Linked DNA regions of Homo sapiens: region 2 is linked to region 1. Evidence: promoter capture Hi-C in 16 types of primary human blood cells and fetal thymus (Javierre and others, 2016). All regions are on one chromosome and are shown on one strand. The core of a region is centred on a gene start or on the middle of the fragment in contact, and the rest is flanking DNA. Distances in the headings are between cores, read along the strand shown. Region 1 holds the start of MPP7 (MAGUK p55 scaffold protein 7). Region 2 has its middle 95 kb from the start of MPP7-DT.

Evidence for each region. The method cuts DNA at HindIII sites, captures the fragments that hold promoters and counts their contacts. A CHiCAGO score of 5 or more calls a contact.
Region 2: a contact is called between a fragment that was not itself captured here and the fragment with the promoter of MPP7 in region 1, in 1 of 17 cell types (monocytes). The highest score is 5.4, in monocytes.

The regions. Positions count from the first base shown.
Region 1 is chr10:28,300,090-28,306,399 of GRCh38, forward strand. MPP7 (MAGUK p55 scaffold protein 7) reads right to left here and starts at 2,975. Exons shown (of 17, transcript NM_001318170.2): 1 at 2,772-2,975. It overlaps MPP7-DT (MPP7 divergent transcript), which reads left to right and starts at 3,080. Exons shown (of 2, transcript XR_930772.3): 1 at 3,080-4,340; 2 at 5,310-6,182. RefSeq lists a silencer at 2,522-3,161. The HindIII fragment of the contact is 2,637 bases long and covers 1,257-3,893 here.
Region 2 is chr10:28,395,450-28,401,759 of GRCh38, forward strand. No RefSeq gene overlaps it. Among named protein-coding and RNA genes, the nearest start is that of MPP7-DT, 95 kb to the left of the region's middle. The HindIII fragment of the contact is 7,853 bases long and covers 1-6,310 here.

The DNA.
Region 1 (6,310 bases), core at 1,725-4,224:
ATTACAATTTTGTCTGAATTGCAATTAGGAGAGAAACAGCTGCAGTACCTTTGTATCTTTGTCAGTGAAATGTTTATAACAAGGAAAAACAAAAATCTGTTTGAAATCTCCAGTAAGCGCCCCCCAGTGCACCATCTAGTGGAAGTCAGGTAGTGTCATAATTAATTTAAAGAAAAAAGTCACAGAAACTCTGAAAACCATTGGGGGAGGGGGAGAAGTCAAAGCTTCAGGTAAGAATACAAGCAAATACTTTACAAACAGCCAAAATATCTTTCCAGTGTCCCACAATGCAAGAGGGCTGGGCTTATGAGAATAAATGATTCATTTTCTGTATAATCAACAGATGATAAAAGTTCCTTTATGGAAATTTTTGCTTGGGTGCTAGAAATTTTGACAGGAGAGTAAAAGTTAAATAAAGCCACTAAAACATAAATAAGTAAATAAATGCTGGGCTAGAGTGACAGCCTTGTGTAAGAAGAGTTGCCTTATATGTTACATGAATATGTTAAAATGTACATGTGAAACAGAGGTATTAGCCACAAAACAAGAGATAACTTCATGATTAGAACAGTTACATTCAGGCTGGGTGCAATGGCTCACGCCTGTAATCCCAGCACTTTGGGAGGCCAAGGCAGGCAGATCACTTGAGGTCAGGAGTTCGAGACCAGCCTGGCCAACATAGTGAAACCCCATCTCTACAAAAATATTAAAAAAAAAAAAATAGCTGGGCGTGGTGGCATGCGCCTGTAGTCCCAGCTACTCAAGAGGCTGAGGCAGGAGAATCACTTGAACCAGGGAGGCAGAGATCACAGTGAGCCACAGCACTCCAGCCTGGACAACAGAGTGAGACTCCACCTCAGAAAAAAAAAAAAAAAGAGTTCCATTCAGTAATCCATAAGACATTTTCATGTTCCTGATAACTAGTAAATTTAACAAAACCTAACGATTCTCTAGAATTCCCTAAGCCTTAACATCATACAAGCGGCTACTCCCAACTACCCATTTCAGCCTGTCCCACACTAATGCCCAAACTCCTTTGGTCAAGTTATTCTAATTAAGAAATTATTCTTCAATCCGTCTATAAATTTACAGTAAACACTTCCCGAAACAAAGTCATAAGTCATGATCAAAATGCATTACACTTCATTAGTATTTTCCTTCTGCATATCAATTATTTCTATTCAATTCAAAAAAAGGTACCGAAATTCAATGCTGAGCTAGAGATGCAAACACAAATAAGGTTCTCTAATTTGGAAAGCTTCCCAAAATTTAAAATAGAGATTTTCACACAGCATTCCTAACTTTTGTTTGTTTTGCCTGTGTGGAAAATTACCTTTCACCTGAAATTCAAACTAGCTAAGCAACCTGAATGGAAAGAAAAACCTCGCAGATAATATTTCTTTACTTGAAAATAACCATCTCCACCTCTGACCTGTGTATACGGGATCAAATTGGTATGCAGAAGTTGGCTTGATGGCGGGAATCTTACCCAGATTTTGGATTAAATCCATTATAGGTATAAAATAAAGTAGGAGTAAAGTGGGGCAGGATTCCTTTCATTTCTAGGGCTTTCAGTTGACATACCTGTAAAATGGACATGCTATGCACAGCCTGCCTCAGAAGAGTAGGAGGATGGCATACTATATAATTGATAGAGTGCTATGAGCTTCACGATTAAATGGAAATACTGTTTTTATAGAACCAGAGTGAACCTGAGCATAGAAAACTCTCCAAGGGCCATCGCTGTGACATTACCGCTAAAACTCAGTGACCTTCATCAATTCACTTGTAAACAAGCAATATATTGAGCAAGTCAAAGGAAAGGCAGCAACAATTCAAGATACTTCTTTATAAGTAAATCAAATTACGTAATTAATAGCCCAGGATTTACCTGCAAACTATTACTGCCTGACTAGCAGGTGCATCCCCAAAGCCTCGAGTACAGAGACTGTTTTTAGAGAGCCCCCCCTTTTTTAAATGTGAATATTGCTTTTAAAAATTAGAAAAAGAAAAAAATCACAATTCTACTCCCACCCATGGCACAGTGACAGAAACAAGGTCCCACCCCCACAATCCTTTCAAACCTGCACAGGCATTCCTCACGAACACTCCTCCCCCTCATTCCTACCTCACCGCTCCCCACTTCAGCCCAGACAAAGCTGAGTTACTCGGCTGGGTCTACCTGTCACTTAAGAAAAAGCCCCCAAATAGATTCACGCTAAATGCTGCTTTTAATTTTTTAAATAGCAAATAAGTAAATAAATAATGCTATCGTGTAGATTACACGGCCAAACGCCTGTTCTCAGAAAACATGTAATTAACACGACCCAAGTGAAGACGCCTTTCTGGCTTAGGGAAAGAAAAAAAAGAAGCCAGCCAGCTTATCGCTCCCTTTCAGTCGGTTCTTTTCCCCGGGGAGCCGGACTCTGACTCAACTCCGCAGTTTTTCCTCCACCTGTCGGTTCTCCCCGCTCTGGGTCTGCCCCGCCGCCGCCCCCGCCCGGAGTCCCGCGCGTCAACAGGGGTCTCCAGGGGTCCTCAGGGTCCCGCCCGAGGCGGCCCCGCCCCTGCCCCGGCCCCGCCCCCACCTCCTCACAAGGTGCCCGCCGCGGGCTCCCAGGCTGAGGCGCCTAGAGGCCGGCAGGAGGCTCCGGAGGACCGCGGCACCGCTCGGCCCGGTCGCCGGCGCAGGGAGCAGCTTCGGGGGCCGACCCCACCGCCCGAGCCTAGCCCTGGGCTCCGACAGGCGCTCCCCAGAGGCGCCCCATTACCTGCTCTGGGCTGCCGCGGTCCGCGGGCAGGAGGCGCACTCGCTCTGGCCCCTGCAGCCCCGGGCCCGGAGGCAAGGAGGCAGCGACCGCCACCGCCGCAGAGGACAATCGGGAGCCAGCGGGCTCGGCACCGCCGCGGCGGGCGCAGAACGCACGAGCCCAGTGGGAGCCCGGCCCCCGCCTCCAGCCCGGCTAGTAACCAACACGGCCCCCACCCTCGGAGGGGCGGGACCGCGGTTGGAGGGGCGGGGCGGGGCTGCACCGCCCGCGGGTAAGAGGGGCCTGCTGATAGGCTGCGAAGGCGATAGGCGTCTCAGACTTGAAGACGCCTCTCCAGCAGAACTCCCTCATTGGTCGGCAAGAGAAAACAAAGCTGGGCTCTGATTGGTGACAGCTCTGTAGCTCCTCCTCATACCCGCAGTCCCCGCAAGTTCCACCCCTGCCCGCCCGGTTCGCTCGCCCTTGGTTCCCACTCCCAGGTGGCTGCAGACTGGAGTGTGTTTCATGGACGAGCAACCTCCCTGAGGAGAACCCCGGATACGCAGGTTCATTCGCCAGATGCGAGTTTTCTTAAGCCGCTGCGATTCTCTGATTTCAGTATGAACTTGGTGAATAACGTAATCTTTAACTTCCTTTGGATTCAGACAAGTCTCCTAGGTTTAAAAATGCTGCATAAGATTGAGAGGGATATTGTTATGCACGAAAAAAGACATAAGGTGTTTTCACCTTTGGCGACACTGTAGGTGACTTTTTCTTATTACCTTTTTGTGTTCCATATTGAACATGTACTACATGATTAGAAAAAAAAATTCTTAAATAGAAAAATGAGTAGGGTGCGGAGAATGGTAAAGACAAACTTTAAGGAAATCCAGAGAACTGATTCTTTCACAATAGAAGAAAATACAGTAAACATGCTTAATATCTGAGGGCTACCCCGAAAAAACATGAACTGGTATCAGCGCCCTTCAGCTCTCTTAAAGAACTTTACATATGTGACCGAGGTGCCCCCATACTCCTTCCTATCATGTAACCAACACATAATGTGGACAGCACTACACTGCAAACAGAATTACAGGAAGACTCTTATAGGAAGAATTAGAATCCAAAGTACACAATCAATAAAGCTTTAGAAAAAGGGGTAGTAAAAAGCAGAAGACAAAAAAAAATCAGGTAATATAAATTGGAAAGCTCAGCTGATGGAGGGAATCATCAGAAAAAAAATAATGTGACAACACTTCAAGATGTGATAGAGACTTTGAATGGAAAGCTGAAGGGAGAGGAAGGGGATTGAGATAAGGATCAATGACCTGCAGTTAATATGAGCTCTCAGAACACATCCCCCAGAACTGGTGTCAGCCTAGAAGGCAAGAAGCATTTCTCACCTAGGGACCACTCTCACTTAACTCTCTCTAGCTGCCTTAACATTCTGTTTGTTCTTGTCATTCTCGCAAAGTTCTAAAACAGGCTATTTGAAATTAAGCACTTCCCCCCAGCAACTCCGTGAATTACGTAATAGTGAAAAATGGAGATAGACAAAAAGCAAACCTGAGGAAGGAAAGGAATGTTAAGGTAAACATAAACTTAAAGAGAAGTAAGGGCAAAACACCTGATAGAAAGAAGACAAGAAATTCTTTTTTCTCTCTTACTTCCTGAGAATAAAGTAAAGGTCTTTGGAGGACAGAATAACCTTATTGCCTAACAAAAAGAGTTTTTACCAAACCTTTCTAATAATAACTGTAATTCTAAACTGTAGTCTAAAAATACGTGTCCTAAAGTAAGTACTTTGAGCAAATAGTTTTGAGATCTAATATTTTTACATTGTGTAAGGAAAAGAAGAGGAACTTAGCCTAGTATGAACAAACTGTAGGGAATACCCTTCAAAAGTTTCTTCTACAATAACACCTGAAATTCCATCACTAACATTCTTTCACTGGGATTAAATAATGTATGTCTAAGATTATTCTTTTATTCATTTACTCATCAAACGTAATCAATATTAATCATCAAATACTAGATACTGCAATGAACGAGGCTTTCTACTAAGCACTCAGAGTATAGCCTTGAACAAGACAGACTTGCAGCTGTTTTTATCAGAAGATGGACAATGATCCAATAAAAAGATAAACTTCCAGACCGGGATCAGGGCAAAGAAGAAAACAGTGACCAGAGGGATGGGAGACACACTTAATTTTGGGAAAGGAGAAAAATGCTTTAAGGAGAAATGATCTAAGAGAAATGCTCTAAGATTTGAGGCACCACCTAAATAAGAAAACACCAACTTAGCAAAACTCCAGGGCAGATAAAATAGCAAGAACAAAGGACTTGAAGTAGGAAGAAAAGTGATGTATAGCAGGAACAGAGAGAAAGCCAGCATGGGTATCATGGTGCATAAGGAGAGTGCTACTAGACAGGTTGGAGAAGGAGGTGAGGACCTCGTAGGCAATGGTAACTTTGTATTTTGTTACAAGGATTCCTGACGGGCAACATCGAGTTGCTGATAGTGGAGTAAAATCATTATTTTTTTTTTTCCTTTTTCAGAGTCACCAGTAAAATGAGCATTCATTCATTAAGCCAATCATCAGGAATGGATCTAGGAAGAACCTACTGTTTACTAGAAATAGGTTAGATCTGTGGATATAACAATGAATAAGACAAGACTGGTGGATCTATAGAGAAACTATTACTGCACAGGTGATGGGGAAATCAAGAGTACTATGGGGCCAAGGAGACTGTCCTGCAGCAAATGAGGAATAAGCTGAAACATCAGTAGGAGCCATCCCAGAGAAAAGGGACAGGGTTCTAGATCCAGAGAACAACAGAAGAGCATTCAGCGCCTGCAAGGGAGCAGGGGATCTAATGCAAAGCCATTGCATAACCAGTCAACTTTCCCCACATCACAAGATTGCCTAGCCTGGATGGCCCCAGAATGTTGAAACAAATGTCTAATTAGTAACGACATTCTGAATGCTTGGGAGCTGAGCAAAATATGAGGAGAAGCAACCTGATTTTTGTTTCATATTATCATCTCCTTTATTCCAGCAACAAAAGACACTGAAAATAGTAAATGCCCACTTTCAACCATGACAGCCCTTTTAGGATAGTAACGGTGAGCAGTATTAATCCTATTTGACCAGAACTAGGGCAGAATTGAAGCCCCTGGAGTAGAGATCTGTTCTATTAGCCCCAGCCTTTCCGCCTGCTTCTTGGGATGGCTATCTTTACTTTATCAGTTGAGCCTCCAGCATTAGCAGATACCTATAAGGGAAGAGATCCAGCCCTCACTATGGAGGGCCAGAAAGAGAAAGCACCAGACATTAGGAAATGTCAAAGTATCTCAGTACATCCAGCTGATTAGTGACAGATAAGTCAAAATTTGCAGCAACTAAATAAATCAAAAAGTAGATTTTAAAATGTGATCTTTGAAATATTTGGCACAATGCTTCAAAGCCACTGAAAAGCTATCTCTTCACCCTAATAGAGGACAGAAATTCATTAGATAGACAGAAGAGGCTGCATACAGTAGCCCATGCCCATAATCT
Region 2 (6,310 bases), core at 1,253-3,752, 95 kb after region 1:
CAGCTACAAGTCACATAAACAAACTAATCTCTTTTTCTTTTTATCTTCCACTGTCTTCTCCTCCTCCTCTTCCTTCTTTTCCTTCTTCTCCTCCACTACTTCTCCTTCCCTGCCTCTCTCTCTTTCTCTATTTTCCCAATTTAAATTATCAACAGGTGATTCTGGCAAGCCTCATTTGAGTTAAGTGCCCACTTAGTCAAAAAATCAACCAGGATGCCAGAAGCCCCCTTGTGTATTGTGGGGGGTAGGTGGAGTGGCAGAGGGCATTTAATTTGGGAATGAGGCAGACATTCCAGAATTCGTCTGCTATGAGAGCAGTGTGACTTGCACTTGATTGATGCTCGATATTTTCAATTGATTTGAACCAAGTTGAGAGCTTGTAAGAGTTTAATAATTCCCACGATGATCTAATTTCGGGGTCAATTTCATTTTGAACAGTTATGTAATAGGAATACTAAATAACCAACATTTTTTTTTTTTCTGAGACATTGTCGCGTTCTGTCACCCAGGCTGGAGTTCAGTGGCACGATCTCAGCTCACTGCAACCTCCACCTCCCAGGTTCCAGCGATTCTCCTGCCTCAGCTTCTCGAGTAGCTGGGACTACAGGCGTGTGCCACCATGCCTGGCTAATTTTTTGAATTTTTAGTAGAGACGGGGTTTCATCTTGTTTGCCAGGCTAGTCTCAAACTCCCGGCCTCAGGTGATCCACTTGACTTGGCCTCCCAAAGTGCTGGGATTACAGGCATGAGCCACCACACCCAGCCAATAATCAACATTTAATGCAGCTATATTCATGTCATCATTTTCACAACTCATCATCCCAAGTTGTAACTAAATACTAACACAGTGATAAGTGAAAGTCTACGTGCTTCCTTAAAACAACTCTCAGAATGTTCAGTGAACAAAACCAAATTTCTTAGTTCTTGGAAAACAAAACAAAAAAACAAAACTTCAGAGTTTGTTAGGAAATTTGCAAAATTCTTGGCGTTCAAATCACTCGCACAAAGCAATACTGGGATGAGTCAAGTATAATTGAATCAGGAACATATGGATTAAATTCTCCTTTAAATACACATGGATATAAAGACGAGGGGAAAGAGAACCTGCCAAGTTTGTTACCAAAACAAAATGCTTTCAAAATAACTTGAGACAGTCAACAGACCACAAACACAGCTGTGTTCTCTTATGTCTAAAAAAAAATGAATTTTCCCTTCAATGTCTAGATATTTTAATTAGATTTTTGTTGAGTGCCTATGGCGTGTTAGGCACTTTAGAGAGCTCATCAAGTCATGTTCCCTACTTGGGAATGTGAAGTCTTTTTTAAAAAACTTCAACTTTTGGCCGGGCGCAGTGGCTCACACCTGTAATCCCAGCACTTTGGGAGGCCGAGGTGGGCAGATCATGACATCAGGAGATCAAGACCATTCTGGCTAACACAGTGAAACGCCATCTCTACTAAAAATACAAAAACTTAGCCAGGCGTGGTGATGGGCGCCTGTAATCCCAGCTACTTGGGAGGCTGAGGCAGGAGAATCACTTGAATCCGGGAGGCAGAGGTTGCAGTGAGCTGAGATCACACCACTGCGCTCCAGCCTGGCCGACAGAGCGAGACTCTGTCTCAAAAAACATTTTTTTTCCACTTTTATTTTAGATTCAGGAGGTACATGTGCAGATGTGTTACCTGCGTATATTGTGTGATGCTGAGAGTTGGGGTGTGACTGATCCAGTCACCCAGGTAGTAAGCATAATACACAATAGGTAGTTTTTCAGCGTTTGTACCCTTTCTCCCCATTCCTGCTCTATTGGATCTCAGTATCTATCATTGCCGTCTGTACGTCCATGTGTACCCAATGTTTAGCTCACACTTATAAGTGAGAACGTGTAGTATCTGGTTTTCTGTTCCTGCATTAATTCACTTCGGATAACGGCCTCCAGCTGTATCTATGTTTCTGCAAAGGACATGGTCTCGCTCTTTTTTATGGCTGCATAGTATTCCATGGTGTATATGTACCACATTTTCTTTATCCAGACCACCATTAATGGGCACCTAGGTTGATTCTATGTCTTTGCTGTTGTGAATAGTGCTGCAATGAATGTACAAATGCATGTGTCTTTATGGTAGGACAATTTATTTTGGGGAGGAGTATATACCCAGTAATGGGATTGCTGGATAGAATGGTAGTTCTTAGTTCTTTGAGAAATCTCCAAAATGCTTTTCACAGGAGCTGAACTAATTTACATTCCCACCAACAGTGTATATGCGTTCCATTTTCTCTGTATCCTCACAAAAATCTGTAATTTTTTGACTTTTTAGTAACAGCCATTCTGATAGCCATTTTGACTGGTATGAGATGGTATTTCATAGTGGTTTTGACTTGCATTTCTCTGATGATTAGTGATGTTGAATATTTTTTCATGTTTGTTGGCTGCTTCTTTGTCTTATTTTGAGAGTGTCTTTTCATGTCTTTCACCCACTTTTTTTTTGAGGCAAGGTCTCACTCTGTTGCCCAGGCTGGAGTGCAGTGGCATGATCATGGCTCACCATAGCTTCGACCTCCCAGGCTCAAGCAATTTTCCCATCTCAGCCTCCTAAGTAGCTGGAACTATAGGTGGCTATATATCTGGCTAATTTTTAATTTTTTTTTGTAAGAGTGGAGTCTCCCTATATTTCCCAGGTTGATCTCAAACTTCTGGGTCAAGCAATCATCCTGCCTCAGCCTCCCAAAGTGCTGGGTTACAGGCATGAGTTACTGTGCCTGGCCTGCCCACTTTTTAATGGGGTTGTTTTTTGCTTGTTAAACTACCGAAGGGCCTTATAGATTCTGGATACCAGACCTTCGTTGAATCTGTAGTTTGTGAATATTTTCTCCCATTCTGTAGGTTGTCTGAGGAAACATGAACTCTTAATGAAATGATTAGCATCATTCTCTTCCTGGTGTTAAAGCAAGCCAAATATGGCCTGAGAAGGACTCTGTATTTCTCCATTTTTTTTTTTTTTTTTTGAGACGGTTTCGCTCTTGTTGCCTAGGCTGGAGTGCAATGGCGTGATCTTGGCTCACTGCAACCTCTGTCTCCCGGGTTCAAGTGATTCTCCTGCCTCAGCCTCCCAATGGGATTACAAGCATGAGCCACCATGACTGGCTAATTTTTTGTATTTAGTAGAGACTGGGTTTCACCATGTTGGTCAGGCTGGTCTTGAACTCCTGACCTTAGGTGATCCACCCGCCTCGCCCTACCAAAGTGCGGGATTACAGGTGTGAGTCACCGCGCCTGGCCAGGACTCTGTACTTCTATATTTGAGTCCTTGTGGATGAACTGTAACCTAGCTTAATAATCAGACAAGAATGAAAACCTAACTTAGGCGTGTGCACCTTAACAATAACTGAGTCTTGGCCCATCCCAGTGGCCGCACTTCAACTACTCATACACTGCTAAGTGTTCAGACTGTGTTCAAATAAGGCAAATGCCAACCTGTAACCAATCCAGCTGTTTCTGTACCTCACTGCCAATTTCTATACGTCCTTTCCCTTTTTTTGTCCATAAATCTTCTTCCACTATGTGGCTGCGCTGGAGTCTCTGTGAATCTGCTGTGATTCTGGGGGCTGCCCGATTCATGACTCATTCATTGCTCAATTAAACTGCTTTAAATTTAATTCAGCTAAAGTTTTTCTTTTATCACTGGTTTTCCACATCTATTTGAATAATTACTTTTAAAAATCTGTGCAGCAAGAGGCATTCCTCTCAGCCTTGCTTCTGCAATTGATTTTTATGGCCTTAACTGACATGATGGGAGTAAACTTCCTGGAGTGGGTACGCTTGGATTTGGTGTTAACCAGAGAAGTGGTGGATGGCAGGCAAGGCTGGGCCACATGACGAGAGGAGGAACCAACACCAGTTTTACAGACACCAATTTGTGGGGCTGTTTATTGCCACGACAAGGCAATCAGCTTTGCTGATTCATGTTGCTTTTTTCTTTCATGTTTTTAAGACCAGAGTTTTCACAGTCTGGGCAATTTTAGGAGGTTCCAAATTTTTCCATCATTTCCATGTTTGTCTTTGAACAGAGTAAATGATGATGTGGGTCAGGTCACAGATGAGAATTATCCAGCTCTTCTGGGTTATACATCGGTGATGTGTGGCCCACCCAGGCAGAGGGGAGCCTTGTCAAAGCAGCTTTCTGGAAGTGGAGTTCCTTACTTCATTTTACTCACTGTGATCACCAGATTCCTGATGGCAACCGTTAATCAGGATCCTCCAAGTCAGATGCTTCTAGAGTAACATCTCAGGGTGTTCATTAATGCTGAAGTTTGCAAAGGCAACAAAAGATGAGTAGATCACAACCGATCACTACATCACATTACATAATTACAATTAATAGAGTTTTTACTATAGAGGAAGCAAGCAGAAGTTCACATATCTAACTACAGCTAGCAGGCAGTGGGGCCTAGAAAGCAGCTGGAAACGCTTAGTGATTATGGCTAAGAGAACAGTTTTCTTCTCAACCAAAATCCTTTCCCTGCTCTTTCCAAGCTCTGCTGATACTTGTCTGCCTGCTCCTTATTGCATCTGTGCGGAGGTGTCGCTGCCTTGCATCGAAGTCCTAACTACTATTTGCACAAAAATTTCAGCGTGTGTCTATCAATTTCCCAAAAATCACAGTTGACATCGACTGTATCAGTGATATCCCAATGCTACCCCAAGCATATTGCTCTCTATAAAATGACTTTCCGAAATGCATTTCAATAGTCCTCTTACTCTGGGACAGTTTGTTCTTTCCATCAGAGAGGGCTACACACCGGCCGGTTGCAATTTGAGGGCTCTGTGCTCTGTACAACTTGTTCTGCTCTCATGGGTTTTGCTCATCCTGGAGCAATGAACATTATGATCATAGAAAGGGTAACTTCTTGAACTGAAAGTAGATTGCTCCCCATTAACATGCCTCTTGCCCTGCCTTTCACACTGTGGGGCAGTTTCACTTGCAAAATATTTATGAGGTGCTTGTTACATCTGGCTAGGTGCCAGGGAGATAAAGAGGAACAGGGCCGGGTGCGGTGGCTCACGCCTATAATCCCAGCACTTTGGGAGGTCGAGGCGGGTGGATCACCTGAGGTCAGGAGTTCGAGACCAGCCTGACCAACATGGAGAAACCCCATCTCTACTAAAAAAATACAAAATTAGCCAGGTGTGGTGGCGCATGCCTGTAATCCCAGCTACTCGGGAGGCTGAGACAGGAGAATCGCTTGAACCCGGGAGGCAGAGGTTGCGGTGAGCCAAGATCACACCATTGCACTCCGGCCTGGGCAACAAAAGCAAAACTCTGTCACAAAAAAAAAAAAAAAGAAAAAGGAACAAGACATGGTCCCTGCCTTCAGGCGCATATGACCTAATGAGGAAATAAGAAATGTGCAATTAGTACAATATGGTGAAAGTATGCTGTTGATGCTATGTATGCACAGAGGAAGGGTCATAGCTGGTTGTACTGGGGAAGGAAGGGAGGTATATTAGTTCCCTATGTGTCATACAAAGAATCACAAATTTGGTAGCTTAAAGCAACACACATTTATTTTCTTACAGTTCTGCAAGTCAAGAGCCTAAATGGGTCCACTGGCTAAAACCAAAGTGTTGGCAAGGCTGTGCATCCCTGGAGGCTTTAGGGGAGAATGCATTTCTTGCCTTTTCCAGCTTCTAGAGCTGCACTCCTTGGCTGATGGCCCCTTCCTCCATCTCCAAGGCCAGCATCTGCAAATCTCCCTCTGTTCCAGCTCCACATCATCTTCTCCTCTTCTGTGGAGTCTGAGTTCTGTCTCCCTCTCATAAGAACACTTCTGCTTGTATTTAGTGTCCACCCAGGTAATCCAGGATCATCTCCCCATTTCAAGCACTTCACAGCTGCAAAGTCTCTTTTGCTATATACGGTAACATTCACAGATTCCAGAGATTGAGACCTGGATTTTTGGGGGACCATCAGTCAGCCTTTCCAGGAGGTAACATGAGGGAGACAGGCACAGCATTTCTGACAGGAGGGAAAGCATAAGAGGGCACAGTGGCATGACTCAGTACAGAGCATCCAGAATCTGTGTCGCTTAGAGTTGTGGGAGCATCAGGTATGAGGCGGTGGGGATGAACCAGGCTGCAGAGGGTGTCATGCTCCATGCTAAATCATCTGGGTTTTATTTCATAGGTTCCAAGGAGTCTTGGAAGGTTTGTAAGCAGGGCAGTGATGTGGTCAGCTGAGTGGTTTAGAGGGATCATTGTGGGGGATTCAGGCAGGCAGATACCACTGACAGATCATGAGAGTCAGAACCAGGA